Linked DNA regions of Homo sapiens: region 1 is linked to region 2. The links are contacts of gene promoters, found by promoter capture Hi-C in human tissues and cell types (Jung and others, 2019). All regions are on one chromosome and are shown on one strand. The core of a region is centred on a gene start or on the middle of the fragment in contact, and the rest is flanking DNA. Distances in the headings are between cores, read along the strand shown. Region 1 overlaps REPS2 (RALBP1 associated Eps domain containing 2). Region 2 holds the start of REPS2 (RALBP1 associated Eps domain containing 2).

Region 1 (2,700 bases), core at 196-2,695, 47 kb after region 2:
TCTTAATCTGAGTCCTTAGATATTTGGACTGACTCTGCCTTCTTTTTCCAGTGAAAAGATCTCGCTGTATGAAACATAGACATTCTTCATTGCCCCAAAGCCCTTCCACCTTCCTTATGTTTTTATTGCTGGTTTGATGTGCTTGAATGCTAGCCAAAGTATAAGGTGAATGGTAGATGCAAGGACTGGGCGGTTTCCATGGAGACTTCTTGCAGGAGCCTTTCCTTTCTCAGTTCAACAGTTGTCAAGGAAACATCTAGTTTCAATTAAATAAATGTTTGTGGGGTCTGCCAATTTGAGTGTCTCTTGGAAGGGGATTTGGTTAAACTTCTTAAACATCGTAATAAACAAATTCAGAGCAGAGGCTTTTTAGGTTCCCTTCCAGTTATATTAGGTTTTTCTGTAACTTAGGGATGTTAACTAGTCCTCTGTCTGAAGTGATCAGACTATTTATTCATATCCAGAAAATATTATTTTTGAGTCTTGTGGGGAGGAAAACTGAGGCTTAAAGAAAGAGAGGCCAAAGCCAGGGAGCTGGTGTTACATGGCACCAGCTATATATACATGACTATAGTCCATGCTCTTTAGTACGTCCTGCAGGATAAGAGATCCAAGGGGCCTGACCTTTACAAACTGTTTACAGGCTATGGAGTTTGCTGGCTCAGCACTGTGTGTTTATTGCTTCTAGTTAGCTATTGTTGTATCAGTGGCTGGAGTTGGTGATGGTTCACGGAAATAGTGGTGAGAGTACAGATTCTAGGTATATGCAATTCTAATAAATGAGACTTCCCTAGTGTTATCTGTATTGTGACAGCCTCCCCATTGTGCTCTTTATCAAACAGTAAGGTATGGTATATTGCAAAATGCTCACAATACTTTGCAACTCTTCCCATCAAGAGGTAGAGTCAGTTTCTCTATTCTTAGGATCTTGGCTGTCCTGTTGATTTGGTCTGACCCTGGAATACAGTAGAAAAGACCCTGTGTGGGTTTTGATCCTAGGCGTGAGGTAGAGCTTCAGTTTCTTGCTGCTTTGGGAACTCTGCCACCTTGTAAAAAAAGCCCTGGCTGGCCTCCTGGAGGAAGAGAGACTATGTGGAGGAAAATGAAGGTACCCAGACAACCCAATAGTCAACTGCAGAAGCATAAGTGACCCTCATCTGAGATCAATGGTGCCTGGCTCGGATCAGTATAATTGTCCAGCTGAACTCAGCCCAAATTACTGACCCCCAGAGTTATGAATTAAATAAATGCTGTTGCTTTAAGGCACTTAAGTTTTGGGGTGGTGTGTTATACAGTAGTAGATAATTGATACAGCCAAGTTTGGAAGCTCTGGAATGATCAGGGCTCACCTTTGACCTGTCCTCTATAAAACCCAGGATTCTTAGTAACACAGTCCTGTTAATAACAGAACTTGCCTATGGCAAATCTAAGCGGAAAAGCAGTTTATTGGCAGGATATTGTGTAGCTACATCTTTCTTTAGGAAGACCAGGGACAAGGCTTGAAAACTGCACAACTAGGGGGCAGTACTGCCAGAACTACAGCCAGATAACCTCACAGAATTGGTAGCTACTGAATATTGGATGCCTCCACCTACACCACCAACATTGCCTGCATTGGACATTGGGTATGGGGCTGCTCCTGGAACTGGATGTTGTTCCTGTCACTAGAAAACAATCATCTACTGTTCTTGCTGTTTCACAGCACTCATTACTGATTCAGATGCCCGTGTGCCACGTGTTTATAGCAGTGCAATTTGTAATTGCAAAAATAGGGAACCAGCCCAAATGCCCATCAATCGAGTGGATAAAGAAAATATATCAAAAATATATTTTATATGTGTGTGTGTATGTATATGTGTGTATATATGTGTGTATGTATATGTGTGTATATATACACACACGTACATATATATACATATATATACACACACGTACATATATATACACACACGTACATATATATGCACACACACATATATATACACACACGTAACATTTATAATACGCCATGGAATACTACTCAGCCATAAAAAGGAATGAAATAATAGCATTTGCAACAACGTGGATGGAGTTGGAGACCATTATTCTAAGTGAAGTGACTCAGGAATGGAAAACCGAACGTTGTATTTTCTCACTTATAAGTGGGAGCTAAGCTATGAGGATGCAAAGGCATAAGAATGAAACAGTGGACTTTGGGGCCTCAGAGGGAAGGGTGGGAGGTGAGGGATAAAAGACTACACATTGGGTACAGTGTACACTGCTCGGCTGATGAGTACCTCAAAATCTCAGAAATCAGCACTGAAGAACTTAACTCATGTAACCAAATACCATCTGTTCCCCCAAAGCTATTTAAATAATAATAAAAACAAAAACAAATGCCTGTGTGGGTGGTGTCTGGCAGAGCGTAGGTCTTGTGCCCATACCCTGATTGAAAAGAAATCAGGAAAGTGAGAATCTGACACTTTTAGCTTATTTAGCTGAAAGCAGGTGGAAAATTTCATAAACACTGGCAAAGGGTTCGGATAACAGGCAGCCAAAAGAAAAATGGCAAATGTTCATTAGTTTCTGTTGTATACTCTGGTTAGCTCAGTTGGTTACAGCACAGTTATGATGAAGCCAGCATTGTGGTTTGTTCTTAAGTTTTATTGAAAGAAAATAGTTCTGAGATTGTCCCCCTTACACCTGCTCCCTCTCTCACAG
Region 2 (2,700 bases), core at 13-2,512:
AGCCTGTAATCCCAGCACTTTGGGAGGCCGAGGTGGGGGGGTGGGGGTGGGGTGGATCACCTGAGGTCAGGAGTTCGAGACCAGCCTGACAAACATGGTGAAACCCCGTCTCTACTAAAAATACAAAAATTAGCCAGGAGTGGTGGCAGGCGCCTGTAATTCCAGCTACTCGGGAGGCTGAGGCAGGATAATCGCTCGAACCCGGGAGGTGGAGGTTGCAGTGAGCCAAGACTGTGCCATTGAACTACAGCCTGGGCAACAAGAGCGAAACTCCTTCTCAAAAAAAAAAAAAAAAAAAAAAAGTGGTTAGAGTACTAGCCAGGGGGAAGCAAGCACATTTGAAAAATATAGTGTGTATGCTTTAGGATAGGGAGGAATGGAGAGAGAGAGGAGGACATGGACCGGGGTGGAAAAATGTGGGGTTTCGCATTGATTTTTGGTGTGAGCTTGAACAAGTTTTGTACTAAAAAAAATGCCTGTTTTACTACTAAAATAAGTGCTTCCTTTGGAGAGTGAGGATCCTCTGTTACTGAGGTTTGTATTTTCAGGCCCTAGCATATAAATCTGCTACATACGAGATATTCAACTGGTTTTGGAGGAATGAAGGTGAACATGGCAGTTTCCTCATCTGTAAAAGCAGGGTTTGGACGAAATGATCTGCAAAATGGGTCTTTTTGTACTCTTACTACTCTAGTATTTACGAGTAACCGATGTTATTCCTTATAAAGTCTCAACTCCTGGTTTGAGCCATGTCTGACGAGGGGGCCTAACTCCAATACCACCCTGAACACTCTGGGGTCAGTGGGACCCTGTTTGTACAGACGTCTGCGTCTTCCGGCTCTTTAGGACATAAGCAGTACTGCTATGGAAGAAAGGAAACCTAATTTCCCATGCCTTGTCCCTTTCTGGAAAGGGCATGGCGTGGTGTGGGCACCACACCTGCCCCAGCCTTCTAGCAAGAAAACAACACAACCTTCCCCGCTCCCCGAAAAGAGCTTCTCTCCAGTTGGGTCTAGATGCCCCCTTCCCAACCAGGGCGGATGGCCAAAGGCTCCGCTCCCTTGCAGGGTAGGCTTGGAAAGGCACGGGGCCCGCCTTCCTGGGCACCGGAGCCTGTGACGGGCGGAGGGCGTGCGGCGCGCTGGGTTAGTTACCTGGCGCTGGGCGGGGCAAGCGGGAGGCGGGGGCGGGGCCGGGGTGACATCTCAGGCTGTGATTGGGCCGCGCCGCGCCTGTCTCCATGTGCCGCGCAGCTGAGGCACAACATTCAAGCCCGGGGGTGGGGCCGGCGCGCGCCGGGAGGAAGCGGCCGCGCGGCAGCTGCGGGGCGTGGGGGTGGTGGTGGCGGCGGCGGTGGTGGCGGCGGCGGCGGCGGCGGCAGCTGAGGCCGAGGAGGCGGTGGCTGTGGCGGACGCAGCAGCACCCCAGCTAGGGACAGGGCTCCGCCGCGCCCCCTTGCTGGCCCCATGGAGGCGGCAGCGGCGGCGGCGGCGGCGGCAGCGGCAGCGGCAGCGGCGGGCGGGGGCTGTGGCTCCGGGCCGCCGCCGCTGCTGCTGAGCGAGGGCGAGCAGCAGTGCTACTCCGAGCTCTTCGCGCGCTGTGCCGGCGCCGCGGGCGGGGGCCCCGGGTCTGGGCCCCCCGAGGCCGCCAGAGTCGCCCCCGGCACGGCCACTGCGGCCGCCGGCCCCGTGGCTGACCTGTTTCGGGCATCGCAGCTGCCCGCCGAGACGCTGCACCAGGTGGGTCCCTCCGCCTCCTGTCCCTGCGGGTCTGTGGGGCAGTGTGTGCGGGGGCGGAGGTTGCGAGTGGGGCGACAGGGCTGCCCCCAGGGACCCGGAGGCCTCGGCCAGTTCTGAGAGAGAGGACTCTGCAGCCGGGGATGGCGGCGACGCCCTTGTCCCCGGGGGACACCAGCCTCCTTCGCAGCTCAGCTCCTCGCCCAGTGCTGGGTGCGCTCTCCCCATCTTCCTTCCCTGAGACAGTCTGACACTCTCTCCCCTCCCCCGGCCATTTCTGGGGTTCTGCAGCCGCCCAGACCCAAAGTTTGTCCTGTTCTGGAAGTGGTGTTTGTTTTGGCTGCTGCCTGGTTTAACCTCTGCTCGCTGCTCCTGCCCCTCCCTCTCCTGAGTGGGTTCTCAGGGTGCCTTGCTGGGATTTCAACTTGAAGGGTGTGTGTGTCCGTAGGGTTCGAGGCCCAGGGCTGAATGTTGTCCTCTCTATGTAGTTGTAATATATAAGTATCTACTATATGTAATTGCCCATAACATATTTCTAAATATTAATATTAAATCGAAAACCTTAATGACAAGTTGCAGAACAGGGACACGGGACTGCAAGAGGACGTTTGTCAAGTCAAAACCAAATTTCCCATTTGAGATTAGAGGTGGACTTCAGAAGTCCACCATGGGAAACAGCTGTAGTTTCCCATCTATCATTACTTGGACTTGAAATAGAATTGAAAGGTAAGGGATGTCATAGCTACCACCTTTTGGCTGTTCTATACTTGGAAAAGTACTAGGGGATGATACATACCAGACGCTGTTTTTGTTTTGTGCTTTCCTTGGAGCTTGGAGAAAGACTACTTGATAAGCCTTTGTCTGTCATTTCATGTCACCAGCACTTCATGGTGATAAGACTGTTAATATCAGGTTCAAAACGTGAAATGAAGCTTTTCCTAAAAGCAATAGTATGAATGTTATT

Evidence for each region. The method cuts DNA at HindIII sites, captures the fragments that hold promoters and counts their contacts. A contact is called where the count stands out against the background at its distance.
Region 1: a contact is called between a fragment that was not itself captured here and the fragment with the promoter of REPS2 in region 2, in 1 of the 25 tissues and cell types used here (hippocampus).

Annotation. Positions count from the first base shown.
Region 1 is chrX:16,992,458-16,995,157 of GRCh38, forward strand. The region is part of intron 1 of REPS2 (RALBP1 associated Eps domain containing 2); the gene reads left to right. Among named protein-coding and RNA genes, the nearest start is that of REPS2, 47 kb to the left of the region's middle. The HindIII fragment of the contact is 9,956 bases long and covers 1-2,700 here.
Region 2 is chrX:16,945,396-16,948,095 of GRCh38, forward strand. REPS2 (RALBP1 associated Eps domain containing 2) reads left to right here and starts at 1,263. Exons shown (of 18, transcript NM_004726.3): 1 at 1,263-1,739. The coding sequence starts at 1,467. The HindIII fragment of the contact is 7,319 bases long and covers 1-2,700 here.